4 separate regions of the Homo sapiens genome follow, and all the other regions are linked to region 1. Evidence: promoter capture Hi-C in 16 types of primary human blood cells and fetal thymus (Javierre and others, 2016). All regions are on one chromosome and are shown on one strand. The core of a region is centred on a gene start or on the middle of the fragment in contact, and the rest is flanking DNA. Distances in the headings are between cores, read along the strand shown.

The links. The method cuts DNA at HindIII sites, captures the fragments that hold promoters and counts their contacts. A CHiCAGO score of 5 or more calls a contact.
Region 2: a fragment that was not itself captured here is called in contact with the fragment with the promoter of TMEM158 in region 1 in 4 of 17 cell types (M1 macrophages, M0 macrophages, M2 macrophages and 1 more); the score reaches 13.3 in M1 macrophages.
Region 3: a contact is called between a fragment that was not itself captured here and the fragment with the promoter of TMEM158 in region 1, in 3 of 17 cell types (M1 macrophages, M2 macrophages and M0 macrophages). The highest score is 6.2, in M1 macrophages.
Region 4: a contact is called between a fragment that was not itself captured here and the fragment with the promoter of TMEM158 in region 1, in 6 of 17 cell types (naive CD4 T cells, total CD8 T cells, total CD4 T cells and 3 more). The highest score is 6.2, in naive CD4 T cells.

What each region holds. Positions count from the first base shown.
Region 1 is chr3:45,224,593-45,228,349 of GRCh38, forward strand. TMEM158 (transmembrane protein 158) reads right to left here and starts at 1,695. Exons shown (of 1, transcript NM_015444.3): 1 at 1-1,695. The coding sequence starts at 1,435. The coding sequence ends at 533. RefSeq lists silencers at 1,522-1,591, 1,602-1,941. The HindIII fragment of the contact is 4,918 bases long and covers 1-2,791 here.
Region 2 is chr3:45,464,394-45,468,150 of GRCh38, forward strand. The region is part of intron 8 of LARS2 (leucyl-tRNA synthetase 2, mitochondrial); the gene reads left to right. Among named protein-coding and RNA genes, the nearest start is that of LARS2-AS1, 43 kb to the right of the region's middle. The HindIII fragment of the contact is 3,752 bases long and covers 188-3,757 here.
Region 3 is chr3:45,444,287-45,448,043 of GRCh38, forward strand. LARS2 (leucyl-tRNA synthetase 2, mitochondrial) reads left to right here. Exons shown (of 22, transcript NM_015340.4): 7 at 2,605-2,694. Among named protein-coding and RNA genes, the nearest start is that of LARS2, 58 kb to the left of the region's middle. The HindIII fragment of the contact is 5,856 bases long and covers 1-3,757 here.
Region 4 is chr3:45,078,281-45,082,037 of GRCh38, forward strand. LOC124906233 (a long non-coding RNA gene) reads left to right here. Exons shown (of 3, transcript XR_007095898.1): 2 at 3,373-3,594. Among named protein-coding and RNA genes, the nearest start is that of CLEC3B, 54 kb to the left of the region's middle. The HindIII fragment of the contact is 286 bases long and covers 1,592-1,877 here.

The DNA of each region.
Region 1 (3,757 bases), core at 445-2,944:
ATATCGGTGTTAAATCCTTCCCATGCCCTCCCCCCAATTTTAAATAAATTAAAAAACCACAAATTTCAAATACAACTATGTTCAGATACAAAGAGCTTCTCTTACTACAGCAATAGCAATTTAATCTTTTTGTTTTGTATTTTTTTTACTAAAACTTTCATTTAAAACAGTTATTAAATATATAAAACAAATACACAGGATTTGGTCATTTTCTGCCATGAATCTAGGGCACGTGGGTGCGGGGAAGGAGTCGGGCAGGGGGATGCAATAGAGGGGAAAGGGCCCCATTTCCCTCCTCTCCGTCTTCGGAGCTGCGATCCCACCCTCAGTCCAAGGGCTTAAACATCTGCTTTTCGGAACTGGAAGCGCAGCACAAACCTTGCTTTTCAAAGGCGCTGGGGTCTCTCGGCGGCCCCATCTCGGGAAGAGGAACTAACGATAACTACAGCACGAAGCACACCGGCCGAGTCTCCGGCGGGAAAGGCACCCGCGCGCGCGGACACAGGACGGACACAGGGAGGAGCGGAGCGGGTCACTTGGTCGCCACCCCCGAAGTGACGGCCGCGGCGGCGGCGGCAGCGGCGGCGGCGGCGGCGGCTGCGGTGGTCCCTGCGGGCACTGCGGCGGGGGTGGCTGCGGTGGTGCTGGCGGTGGTCCGGCGCTGTTCCATGCCGTTGGGCAGGAAGCCGGCGATGATGGGCACCGGCCAGATGAGGGCGGCCACGCTCCACACCACGATGACCAGGGTCATGAAGCAGGCCACCAGCGTGGACTCAATGGGCTTACGGTTCAGCCGCCAGCCCGGCTCGCCCTGCAGCTCCTCCAGGCTGAAGTCTAGGCAGCAGAAATGCAGCGGCTCGCCCTGCAGCCACAGCGGCCCGGGCGGCTCGGCCGCGGGGTAGGCTGGCAGCGCGGTGGGCGCCCCGGCGGTGGCGGCGGCGGCGCTGGGGGCGGCGGCGGGCCGGAGGCGGCCGGTGCGGCGACCGCGCACCCAGCCGCAGCCCACGCAGAGGCGCAGGTCCTGCTGCGCGCCGCCCGCCGCCAGCCCCAGGTGCTCGATGAGCAGCGGCGGCCCGACGCGGTGGAAGGCGGCGGCGAAGAAAGCGCGGCCGTGCGCGTTGGTGGAGAAGAGCAGTAGGTCGCACTGGAAGCCCCGCGGGCGGCCCCAGCGCACGAGCAGCGAGCTCAGCATCTGCCGCTGCACGCTGATGTTGCACGGCGCCGCCGCCGCCGCCGCCTCCTCCGGGCCCGGGCGCTCGGGGGGCCCGGGGGCCGCCGAGGCCAGCAGCCGCGGGGCGATGGGCTCGTCCGCGGAGGACGCGTTGACTGAAGCATTGGAGGGCACCCCGAGGAGGCCGGGCGCGTCCGCGGCCCCGCCGCGGACGGGCGGCAGCGGGCAGGCGGCGGCCAGGAGCGCGGCGAGCAGGGGCAGCATGGCCTGCGGCGGGCGCCTACGCGCGCGAGGCCGGCGGCGGTTGCATGGCGAGCGGGCGACGGGCCGGCGAGCTCACGGTGGGACCGCGGGAGCCGGCGGCCGGGCGCAGTGCGGGCGCGCCGGGCGCCTGCCAAGCCCGCAGGGGCGGCGCGGAGGCGGTGACGGCGGCTGGCTCGGCGCGGGGATCCCTCCAGACCCGGTTGCGTTTGGGGTTCCCCGCCGCCCCCGGCGCCGGGGCCCTTGGGCTGCCGCGCTGCTCTGCGGGGCCGGGTGCTATCCCAGAGCAGGATTCCCCGGCTCGGCTCCGCCTCCCGCGTGCCCCGCCCCGCCCCGCCCTCCGCTCGCCAGGCTCGGGGACTCAGGGGAGGGCGGGGTTCCACGCGCCGGGGCTGGGAGAGGAATCGCCGGGGCGGGGCTGGGTGCGGGGGCGCGGCGGAGAGCGGATCGCCCGGGGTGCGTGCGGGCGGGCGGGGAAGCCTGCGGACGCGCCCGGGCGCCCCCGCGCTCCGGGTGAATCGCGTTCTCAGAGGGAGGCTCCAGGGCCCGGAGACCATCCTTTTGTCAGGCCTGAGGGGAGCTTCGCTGTCTCGCCTTAGTGCTACCGAACCTCCTTTGTTTTACAGAAGGGGAAACTGAGGTCGAGAGAGGGGAAAGGGCCTCGCTAGGCCAACTCATGAGCCAGAAACAAGTCCGCGCCACTAGCTCTTTCTGCCTTTTTACGGTGTCTCTTACCTCAAATCTGTAGAGTTTGGCTGCTTTTTAATGGCTCCAACACAGCAGACTCACTTGGGATTCTCCTCGCAGCAAGCGAGGAAAATTCCAAGAACTCTGTGGAGTTTCGAGTGGAGAGTGACTGGCTGGGGGGAATGTGAGCCCTGAAGCTGTGCCGCCTGGGGGTCCCGAGGACACAGGTCCTGACAGGTCGAGTGAGCGCGTGTTCATGAAACAGTTGTAGGTTAGAACCCACGTCAAAGGGGCAGTTCATCCCCTTTGGGATATTATACGGGAGGAGGGCTACCAAGAATAACGTGTCAAGAGATCAGATTTATCACATTTATATTGAAAAGCACTTTCTTAGTAGTTCGGCCCCTCACACTTGGAAACAAACTTCAACGACCCTTCATCATTCCCATCGTTCTTTAGGGGACATTTATGTTGAATTATTATCTATTTTATTTTAGTTGGAAGCCCTTGTACTCCATGAGCACCAAGTATTCCTGATTCGGAGAGGGGAGGGGTGGAGGGAGCAGAGAAAGGCCTCAACAAAACCGCCTTCCTTCTAAACCAGCTAATCCTGAGAGGTCTGCCAAGAGTCCAGCTACATTGCTAGGCATCCTGGCTGATTACTTTTCTGGAAGCTTTTGTCCATTGTTTTCTAACAATGAGTAAAATGGGACTGAGAAAGTTGCAAAAACGCCTCAAAATAAAGCTCCCCAACTTATTCCACCTCTTGCCATCTAAGCAAGCCATTATTCTGACTTAGCCTTGGTTTCCCCATCTGAGTTGGGGGGTGGGTGGTACCTCCTCACAGGGCTGCTGTGATAATACTCCCAACCCAGTGTCTATCTGTCCCCAGATGTTCCCACATGGTGGTTGCTGTGATGTGGTTACTAACAGTGCTGCCCAAGTTGGCTGCCTAGAGTGGTCCTTGGTTTCTACAGAAATGGTTCATTTCCCCAAGGGGATGGGACTCCCTTTTCGTTTCAGCCTCCATCACTTTTGTGCTTGGAAGTGGTGCTACCAGGGAGAACAATGTGAATTTTCCTGCTTTTAATAAAAATGACTTCTCCTTTCAACCTTTGCATATCAGGAACAGAAGCTGCTCAGTGATGTGGCAGAACAGTTTTAATTTAAGCCATGTGTCTGGTGAACCCTGAAGAACAGGAATATCAAGTGATCCTGAGGGCTGAGGGAGGCCTAATCTTCAAGGGGTGCGTTTTGAGCCAGGCTGTTGCCTGTGACTGCAGATGACATTCTCTGGGGTTTCAGTCAGAGGCAGAGGCTTCCTGAGCTTTCCTGAGACACTCCTGGCTTTGTCTGTGCAGGGGGGAAGGCAGCAGCAAAGGGAAAAGACAAGAGATCTATTTGGGGAGCCAAGCAGTTCCCTGCAAAGTTGCGCCACTGAAGCTCTGCATCCTAGCAACCTGCATTCTGCCCACTTTTCCAGCAGGTGCCGTCCTGAGGACTCCGTCACCTCGCCCTCATTCAGAATGTAATTACCCTTCAAATAGTAACACAGATCCTACTTTCTAGATTGATTTGCTATCTTTTTGGAATTTGAGAACAGAAGATAGCGAGGAAGTTATTTTCTATCTTGTTTAC
Region 2 (3,757 bases), core at 814-3,313, 240 kb after region 1:
GATACTTATGAAAGCATTTGGCTGCCCTCTAGAAATTGGGCCTCTTGCCTGGCTTTCTGCTCGTAACTTCAGATCCTGTCTCAGCCCCAGAACAGAGGCTGGGTCACAGGTAGCACCAGGAAGTGCCTCTCCAGTCACATCGTCCCCTTAATCCCCTTCACCCCTGTCACTCCTGTGTTGCTCTAGAAGCTTTGCAAAGGAATTGTTAGAGAAGTTTGGTAACTTGACCCTACTCTGCCCTCTGACCTCAAGAAAGCACCTCCTCCTGTTTGTGCGTCAAAGCACTTCCTCCTCCTGTGTGTGCATACTGCGCCTTCTAAGGGGGAGGGGCGGCAGCACAAATTAGATGTTGGCAGAAGAGGCAAAATGACAGAACTGAGAGGAGCAAGTGAGAAATGTTTAGCAAACTGTCAGCTTCTCTGCAGGGCTCTGAGGACCAGGCCAGGGCTGGGATTTGGTGATGATGATGCTGCTTGGGTTTATCTACAATGAGGGCTTTTTCTTAAAAGCTCTGTGGCTTCGAAGCTCTTACTGCATTTATCCCCACCATGCCCCTCTGTGGTCAGACAGGGCTGAGGGTGGCTTTATCCCTCCTCACTTTAAAAATGATTAGATACTGTGGGGTAGGAGGCCAGAGCCCATGCCGGCTCTGGACCCCTATTCTCAGACCAGTGCTGAGCCACACCCTCAGAGCCCTCAGCCTCCCTGCCAGGATTCTCCCTCATGCTGGGGCTGTCTCTTCTCTTGGCTACAGTAGATTCTGCTCCCAGTCCCAGGGATCTGGTTTTGACTCCCTGTCTCACAAAGCTAATTAATAGTTAAATTCTGCTCCTTCTTACATAATATCTCCTGCTTCTGTTTTCTGTTTTCCCTGCCTCTCCAGCGTCTTTTCTCTCCTAAGCTATTCTAAACTGAACTCTCTGCTTTTCTATCCTCCATCCTATGCTCTCAGCCCTCCTCAGCATGATTGCTGGCCAGAGTGGCCAGTGCCACAGGGACCAGGTGGAAGTTGTTACTGGGAGAGCCAGCCCCTCAGAAGTCCTTCTAGGGATGGGACTGGGCAGGGGTAGGAAGGGCACAGAGGCCACAGAAAAGTAGACAACTTGAGGCTGGCTTTTCCCTGTCACTTCCCAGGCAAGCAAAAAGCTGCCTGAATAGAGGGAGTAAAATCTTTAATAACAGCCCGGGGCCAAGGCGAGATGCTGGGAGGAGGCACCTGGCTGGCTCTCAGCAGGCCTGAGAGGGAACTTCCTCCAGGAAAGGTCCTCCAGGGGTTGGTACAGGGCTGGGCCTTCGCTCTGGGATTCAGAAACCAGTGGTGTTTCTAAATGGTACAGAGACAGTACAGGCCATCAGGTTTCCCTCCCTGAATGCAGGGCCTTCCTGCTGACCTCCCAGATGTCCCCCACCAATGCCTAGTCACATCTGTATGTAGTCTCTATTAGGTCAATTCTCTATCATCATCTCATTTCCCTTAGCCCTGACTTCTTGCGCACACTCCACTGTCCGTCCCTGTCAGGGAAATAAAGACAGGTATGCTTGGTACATGTACTCCAGATGTATGAGAATAAAAGAAAACTTCTGCAGTCTCTGGGTCAGCAACCTGCTCTGCAAAGAGAAAGGTTTTCATGTTTTGTTTCCAAGATGGAATGACTGCAAAGGAAAAATGGAAGAAATAATTTAATAGTATACTTCTTATGGTATATGGACAATGAAATACATTGTAAATTTGATCAGGAACCATAAAGATAGAAAAGCATTTTGTGTTCCTTTTGAACCCTGAGTGGCCTTTTTGAGCTCCTGTTTCTTGGGTGTACAGGTCTTCTTGAGGTGTCAGCCTGGACTCCATGGGAAGAGATGTATTTAGCCTCTTGTTGAGGGGTCTCAGGGATCGCTGCACAGGCCTGGTGAGTGTCACCAATGAACCTCTTCAGCTTGGAGAGTTATTTGAACTTCAAAGCTAGAAGAAACTTGAGAGAGCATTTAGCTCGGGTCTCTTTTTAATCCCTGCCCTGATCTGAAAAACATAAAAGCAAATAAACAGAAAACCCCTCATGCCTGCATTTACTGCTGCTTGAAATTGCAAAATCAATATGATGTCTGGAAACAAATTAAAATAAATGAATAAGGTGTTGCGTTATTTTGAGCGGCCCACATCATGTCCTTCTCACTCCTTCCCAGGGGGCTGATTGCCATCCTGAGGTGTGTGTCCCATCCTTGAAAATTGCTGACCCAGCCCACATCTTATTATATAATTGAGGTGCCAAGAGCAGGGAAGGGCCAGAACCCAACTTGGGTCTCCTCAGTCCCAGTCCTGCCTTCTTTTTTATTATTATTATTTGAGACCGAATCTCACTCTGTCTCCCAGGCTGGAGTGCAGTGGTACAATCTCGGCTCACTGCAACCTCCACCTCCCAGATTCAAGTGATTCTCCTGCTTCAGCCTCCTGAGTAGCTGGGATTACAGGCGCCTGCCACCATGCCCGGCTAATTTTTGTATTTTTAGTAGAGACGGGGTTTCACCTGCATTGTTTACCCCTGCTCTTGGGGACAGTTCCCAAGCAACTGAGTATTTCTGAGAATCATGTGCAGACAATAGCCAGTCAGCGTGTGTTGCAGGAAGGCAGCACATTAGCGATAGGAAATGCAGTAAGTACAGAATGGGCACAAATGGCCAGGTAATGGAAAGTGTGGTGATTAGAGGTTTTCTGTTTTGTTCTTGGTGGAATTGACTCATTGTCCTCTCTGTCTTGCTTTTGTCATTATTTACTCCAGTGCTCTGTCCTTACCCTGGGTTCTTCTGAGCCCAGCTGCAGAGAGACCAGTAAAGACCGATCCAATGGCTGCTGCTATGAAGGAAGCAAATAGTCATTAACAGATACATACATGTCAATACTGTGTTTTTCAAAATAACCATTCTCTTATGCAGAGAGACACTTTTCCACAGCACCTTTCCACTTCTCTGTGTATTTGCTTACTGCTACCAGATGGCTAGCTCTAAGTGTCAGATTTGCTCAAAATAGAGACAGTAGAGCTGTAATAAGTTGAAAACTCAGGTAAAATACATTCTGTAGTTTTAAAAGAGTATATTAACAACATGCTCTTAACTATGTAAAAGCATATATATAAACACACATACAAGATTTTATCAATCCTGACATGATTAGTTTTAAATTGAATGCTCCATTAAGAAAGAAAAATGCTCTCAATATATTGTAAGATACCACTGATTGTAAGACATGTCCCAGTGTCAGAGTTTTTGGGAAAATGTATGTCTTAGAGTGAATAGAAGATGCAATATAAGTAGGATGGAAAGATATAAAACAAAATATTAATAGTCATCTCCCTGGGTATTTTGACCAATTGTGGGTAATTGTTAATTTTCTTCTCTTCCAAATTTTCCATAAAAAGATTATTGCTGGGCAAGGTGGCTCATGCCTGTAATCTCAACAAGGTAGCCAAGGTGGGTAGATCGCTTGAGCCCAGGAGTTCAAGACCAGCCTGGGCAACTGGCAAACCTCATCTCTACAAGAAATACAAAAATTAACTGCATGTGGTGGTGTTCACCTATAGTATGCACCTACAGTCCCAGCTACTCAGGAGGCTGAGGTGGGAGGATCACTTGAGCCCCAGGAGGTCGAGGCTGCAGTGAGCCGAGATCACCCCACTGCACTTCAGCCTGGGCGACAGAGTGAGACACTGTCTCAAAAAAAAAAAGATTATTATCATTTTGATAATCATAAAATAAAACAGCATGA
Region 3 (3,757 bases), core at 679-3,178, 220 kb after region 1:
ATAGGCATGAGCCACTGCGCCCAGCCCTTTTTTCACTTTAGGTAAAAGTGATTTTCAGAACCATCAACCTAGGGGAAAAAAAAAAATGCTGTTTCGGCCAGGCGCGGTGGCTCACGCCTGTAATCCCAGCACTTTGGGAGGCCGAGGTGGGCGGATCACGAGGTCAGGAGATCGAGACCATCCCGGCTAAAACGGTGAAACCCCCATCTCTACTAAAAATACAAAAAATTAGCCGGGCGTAGTGGCGGGCGCCTGTAGTCCCAGCTACTTGGTAGGCTGAGGCAGGAGAATGGCGTGAACCCGGGAGGCGGAGCTTGCAGTGAGCCGAGATCCCGCCACTGCACTCCAGCCTGGGCGACAGAGCGAGACTCCGTCTCAAAAAAAAAAAAAAAAAAAAAACAATGCTGTTTCATTGCTGTGTAATTTTTACTCTCACTCTAGGAAGCAGATTCATCGGCTTAGAGAAAAAAACACATATTTGTATATTTTATATATGTGTGTATATATAAAATATGTTGTATATGTGTTACATATATAATATATATTATGTGTTATATATTTACTAAAAGAATTTTGATATTATGAACAACTCAATAGAAAAATTGAGAAAAGAAAATATTGAACCTCTATCCCTTAGATTTAACAATTCTCATTATTTTCTCAAAATTATTTCACACACTTTTCTAAACCTCTAGTGGGTAAAGATTTTTTAAAAATAAAAAGATATATCCACAATGACCAAGTCTAGGAATATTTTTACCATACTACCTCCACCCCTTACCCACATCCCCTATCCCAGTTCATCTTGGGGACAACAGTGTAATAATTTGAATTTTGTGGTGAAACCTACATGAAGGAATCAAATTTGATTCAATGTCAGTAGTTCATATCTCTATCTAGTTTATTCTTCCTTCAACAACAATTTTGGGTGCCTCAATGTGCCAGGACCTGAGCATACTACAATGAGCAAAATGAAATAGACCAAACATAGCTCCTGCCCTGGGTTTTGTTAACAGTGGAAGTTTTTAAATTTCTTGTCTAGAAAACTGAGGAAAACAAGTTCTGTGCCATGCTAGCTGGAGGGGTAGCTGTGGAGGAAAAGATGATGGATGAGGATGAATTTGGAGGTTTTGGGGAGCAAGCCCATTGGCAGAGTGCTGGTTAGGTTCTTGAGTTGGTGAAGATCTTTGTGCACGACACCCCTGTAGACATCTGTGAAGCTGGAAGCCAGAGCAGGCTGCGTCGTATGCATGGCTCAGAAATTATGGCTCTTGTGTTGTGGAAGCTGGCCTAGGTGGACAGCTACAATGTGGGCAAAGCCCTTTGACTGGCTGGTGGTTCACTAGTTGCCTTGAAGTGGGAAGGTAGAGCCAATAGTCAGAGTTGTGTTATTTTCCTTTTAAAAGAATTGTTTTCTAATAGTTATTACTCTGCTGTTTTTATAAAACAGCACAAAAAAGGACTCAGGAGTCTTACATAAGAAAAATAGCCCACTGGGGGCACAGATGTTTACCTGACACCTTGCTTAGTTCCTACCACATACCCAAAGTCCGGGTTTGAAGCTGTCTCATTTATTCATCTTAAGGAAGACTGAATTGTTTGCACTTTTGGTAAAAGTACGCTTTCTATCAAAAGTTTATTACAAGGCGTGGTGGCACACACCTGTAGTCCCAGCTACTGGGGAGGCTGAGGAGGGAGGGTCATTTGAGCCCAGGAGTTCGAGACTACAGTGAGGCACAATCACACCACTGCACTTCAACCTTGGTGACAGAACAAGACTTCTGTCTCTTAAAAATAAAAAAGTCTGTTACAAACGGAGTCATTTGAAACATTCCCTCCCATCATTCATTTCTGCGTTAGTTTTTGAAGTTAAAGAGCACTAGAAAAGAAACGTGACAGTATAGAGGTTTTATGCTTATTTGACTTTATCAACTGTAAATTCTGTTTTTAAGAATTCTATAACAAATGTGTTTTTAGGACAGAAAGTAAATTTGGGGAACCTTTGATTTAGGCTTGGAAATATAAACCAAGTGGTTTCTTACTAAGTTTAATGTTTTTAATTGTTCTTCCTAAGTAAACAACAGCCTGATTCACATAATGGAATAAATGGAATATACGAGTCTAAAGGAGCCACTAGACCCCAGTTTTATGTGGAAACACAAGATGTATTTTCAAATGAGGATCATACTGAGGCAGGCAAATATTCCTCATGAATTTTGTGATTGCTTTCAAAATGAGCTACATTTGTGAATAAGCATCAGGCCCCCAGTGTATGTTTGTGCTGACAAAAATGTTAATACCCAATTTTGTACAATGTAATTCACTTGTTAGTGCCATAGATGAGTGGGCAGGAGGTGTGCAAAAGACTTGAAGTTGAGTTTCTCATTGAACATGCTCTCAGAAAGGTGTAGGTGGCATTTCAATAACATCTCTTTCCAGAATAAATTGTGACTCTCCTTACTTTACAAACTGGTGAAAATATTTTGAGCTGGTAAATATTTTTGTGATTTCATTACTTTTCAAAATTCAGTTGCAAGACTGAGCATGCATGGCTGGGGGGATGTTTATAATGGCCTGTACATTATTTTTCTTCTTTGTTGGCAGGAAATAACTACGTGTTTGCCAGATTACTACAAGTGGACTCAGTATCTCTTTATTAAACTGTATGAGGCTGGGCTGGCCTATCAAAAGGAGGTAAGTTAAAATTAGCTGGACTTTTAAAATTCAGTGAATCTCTTTAGGATACATCATTGTAGTAGCAGCGAAAATGAACGCTACCTCAAGTTCATAAAATCAGTCACAGCAGACCCAGAACGTAACTACTTCCTACTTAAGTTTAGTGTCATCAAGACAGGGTCTGGGCTTCTTTTACCCTTGAATTCTTACCCCATAACCTATTGTCTGGTTCCTGTAATGAGATCAAGGAGAGGGCATAAGAAGAAAGAACACAGGCTTCTCAAATCCTAGCTCAGCTCCCTCTCCCAGCTATGTGAACATCTGGGTAACTTAACCTCTAGGAAACATGGTTTTGTATCTGCTAAATGGGAATGGGGACATTTTCCTTGTGGGGTACTATGGTTTGGATGTCCCCTCCAAAACTCATGTTGAAATTTAATTGCCATTGTGATGGATTTAAGAAGAGGGACCTTTAAGAAGTGAGTGGGTCACGACAGCCCTGTCCTAATAAATGGATTAATGTTATTATTGTGGGAATGAGCTCCCAATAAAAGGATGAGTTCAGCCAAATTCTCTGTGTGTGTGTGTCATACGGTCACTTGCTGTTCTACTTACTGCCATGGGATAATGCAGCACAGAGGCCCTTGCAGATGTTGGCACCATGCTCTTGGACTTCCTGACCTCCAGAATCAGCCAAATAAACTTCTATCAATAAATTACCCAGTCTGTGGTATTCTATTACAGTAGCAGAAAATGGAGGAAGACACAGGGTTCTTGGAAAGATTAAAGGTAATAGTTAAAGAACAGCTATCACAGTGGTCTCCCGAGAAATGAAAGTGTTTGTTATGGTGGGAGCTCAATAATGATAGGTAAGACTTGGAATGGTGGGAGATGAGGCAAGAGCATCATAGTGTGGCCTAGAACTGTCCAGGATGATAGCCACTAGCCACATGTGGTTGCTTAAATTTAAAGTAATTAAAATTAAATAGTATTTAAAAAGTCAGAGCTGGGACAGTGGCTCACACCTGTAATCTCAGCACTTTGGGAGATTGATGCAGGAGGATTGCTTGATGCCAGGAGT
Region 4 (3,757 bases), core at 485-2,984, 150 kb before region 1:
CAGGGGTGGGATGATATGGTTTGGCTCTGTGTCCCCACCTAGATCTCATTTTGAATTGTACTCCCATAATTCCCACATGTTGTGGGAGGGACCTGGTGGGAGATAATTTGAATCATGGGGGCAGTTTTCCCTATACTGTTCCCATGGTAGTGAGTAAGTCTTACAAGACCTGATGGTTTTGTCAGGGGTTTCTGCTTTTGCATCTTCATCATTTTTCTGTTGCCACTGCCATGTAAGAAGTGCCTTTAACCTTCCACCATGATTCTGAGGCCTCCCCAGCCATGTGGAACTGCAAGTCCAACTATACCTCTTTTTCTTCCCAGTCTCAGGTATGTCTTTATCAGCAGCATGAAAACGGACTAATACACCTACATTAAAGGGCAGAGAAGAGGCCGTGCTGGTTCATCCATATAACTCATGGGATCATTAGGAGGTTCTTAAGGCTGGGTACAGGGGCTCATGCCTGTAATCCCAGCACTTTGCTGGGTGAAGGCAGGCAGACTCACCTGAGGTCAGGAGTTTGAGCCTGGCCATGGTGAAGCCTGCCTCTACTAAAAATACAAAAATTAGCCAGGCGTGGTGGGGCACACCTGTAATCCCAGCCATTCAGGAGGCTGAGGCATGAGAATCGCTTGAACCTGGGAGGTGGAGGTTGCAGTGAGCCAAGATCATGCCACTGCACTTCAGCCTGGGCAATAGAGCGAGACTCTGTCTCAAAAAAAAAAAAAAATTGTTCTTATGAAGCCTGAGGCTAGGAGAGAATTGGCCAGCAGGAGGCTGAGTTCCACCTTTCTCATTTCGTCATAAGCACGTTTAAAGCCAAGAAACAGCCTTGTGAACCGCCCAAACAGAACAGTGAGCTGTGAGGTTGGGTGTCGTTTGCAGGCTCCCCAGGACTGGCTGAGGATGCCTTGATGTGGCACTGATTAGAGATGATCCCAGAGACCACACAGATGTGAACAGGACTCCCCTCTTCCGTGGGGAACAGAAGTCCATGAGAGGCTGGGTCTGAAGGGCAGGGCGAGGGTAAAGGAGACAGGTTTGGCAGCAGCCTGGAGGGCTATAGGTGCTTTGCCCTGTGGCTTTAACATCAGATCCCCAAGTATCCCTGACCTGGGGGAGGAGCTGCCAACACAAAGTCCAGAAAGGGCAGGGCATATAGGTGGAAGCAGAAATGCCAATCAGGATGAGTGACAGGGATGAACCAAAGTTGGGTTCAATATTCTGGACCTGGGTGACTGGAGGAATCAAAGCATTCTAGAGTTAGAAGTGGCCTTAGAATATTTAATCTTGTGCCTAGGACTAGATATTGTGCTTCAGTGTCCCTGAGACCTCCTCCACCTCAAACTTGTGGCCTCCTGAAGGAAAGAAAAAGAGACAAACACTATCTAGGAAGCCCTGGGGTCCACCAGACTCCTCGGCAGCCACTCTCCCGACTGTGGCTCCCAGGAGAACCCAGTCTCATGGCCTAGCTGAGTAGCAGAGCACTGTGGAAAGGCTGTATGGTTGCTGCCCTGCCTCTTGCTGCTCTGTGACCCTGGGCTCGTGACTTCACCTTGCTGGGCCTTCTTTCACCAGTAAGCTGAAAATAAGCTTTGCTGCTAGGATATTAATTGGTGACATGAGATAAGGTTTGTAAAACACAGGGCACTTGCCTGACATCTACTTCCTCCTTGCCATCTGGAAGCCTCCAGTATAACACCTGCCTGAAGTCATAGCTGAAGTACAACATGTTTCTGACAATTAAATGTAACAGACATAATTTCTAGGGCACCCACTGCATTGGACAATGTGAGACAGATGGACTAAGTACAAGACATGGACCTCTACCTCTGAAAAAAGTAGCATCTTGGTTAAGCAAAAGACACACAAGCACAAGCTTTTTAAATTATGAAACTAATACAGCTACATGCAGAAGAATTATGAATCAAAAGGACTATTGGGATTTAGAAGGAGAGCTTAGCAGAGTTGGAGGGCTTCCTGGAGAAAATGGGCTCTGTGATAGACTCTGAAGTGCTGGTAAGGCATGGAAGGTGGGCAGCTTTTGCTGTGAGTTGTCCAGGAACAATGGCAAGAGCAAGGTGTGGGCAAGAGCAAGGTGTGGGCAAGAGCAAGGTGTGGGCAGGAGTGGATTCAGAGCCCCACTGGAATAGAGTTTTGAAGTCATGGATGAAGTGGGCGGAGAGAGGTCTGAAGAGGTTAGGAGGGCCAGGCAGTGGACTGGAGGTGCCACACCACCAGCAAAAGACCAAGGATTCTGTTCTAAGGGCCAACCAAGTCTGGAGGCACAGATTTCAGAGTGAGGGAGTCACATGATGAAAAAGGAATGGTGGAATAGAGGGGGATGTTGGATGGGAGGAGAATCTAGAACAATCAGGGTGAGTGACAGGGATGAAATGAAGTTAGGTCCAATATTCTGGGCCTGGGTGACTGGAGGAATCAAAGCATTCTAGAGCGTGAAGTGACCTTAGAAGATGTAATCTTGTATAGCCATTCAGAATAGGTTAATGCCTTTCCTGGGTCCACGGCAAGTTCTTCCTCTCTTAGTTCTCTCAAGAGCTGGTTGTTGAAAACAGCCTAGCGCCACCCCTTCCCCTGCCATTCTCTCCCTTCCTCTCTCACCATGTGATTTCTGCACATGCAGGCTCCCCTTTGTCTTCTGCCATGAGGGGAAGTAGCCTGAGGCCCTCATCAGTTGCAGATGCTGGGTTTCATGCTTCCTGTACAGCCTGCAGAATCATGAGCCAAATAAACCTCTTTTCTTCATAAATTACCCAGGCTTATGTATCCCTTTATAGCAACACAAATGGACTAAGACAGTACCCTCCCTATGGGGCAGTGTCCAGAGAGAAAAGGCCAGAAGACCAAAGACTGAACCTTGAGTCCTGGGAACAGGATCCAGGAGAAGGGGCAGTCAGAGGTGGGATGCAGCCCAGATGTGGTCATGGTGATCAAGGACGCAGTAGTGAAGGTGGTCAGTGCTGTCCACAGGCATGGTACTTGGCTGTGATCTCCCCAGCCCCACTGAAGCCTATTACAGATGGCTGCAAATTCTTTGACACCTCTCCCACTGAGATGGGGTGGGGGAATCTTTGCTTCCTCCATGTAAATCGGAGTAGGTTCTGTGACTAATGCCCCCCATAGAATAGAATGGAAGTTTAGCTGGGCATGGTAGTGCATGGCTGTAGTCCCAGCTACTCGGGAGGCTGAAGTGGGAGGATCGCTTTAAGCCCAGGAGTTCTCCAGCTGGGGCAAGAGAGTGAGAACCTGTCTCAAAAAAAAAAAAAAAAAAAAAAAAAGGAATAGAATGGAAGTAATGTCATGCCAGTGTCCAGTTCCAGCCTCTGAGAGACTGGCTGTTCTGACCTTTAGAATCTGGGAGCACTCAGTTGTGGAACCCAGCCACCATGTTGTGAAGAAGCCCTGTGCAGTGGTCCAAGTGACCAGGAGTCAAAGCTCCCAGCCAATAGCCAGCACTAACTTGTCAGCAGTGTCATGGAGCCCACTTGAAAGAGGATTCTAATTATGCTGCCCAAGCTGTGGCCACATGGAGGAGAGATATACAGTCCCTGCTGAACCCTGCTCTAATTACAGGTTTGTGAGCAAAACTACTAATTGTTAACTAAATTTTGGGGTGGCTCATTACACAGCAACATCTGGTTTTCTCGGTGGATTCAATCCAATGTGCTTGGGTCTCCCCTCCTAGTGCATGGCAGATGGTGGGGGCCATGGGAACTTCCCTCTCTCACTGCTCTCC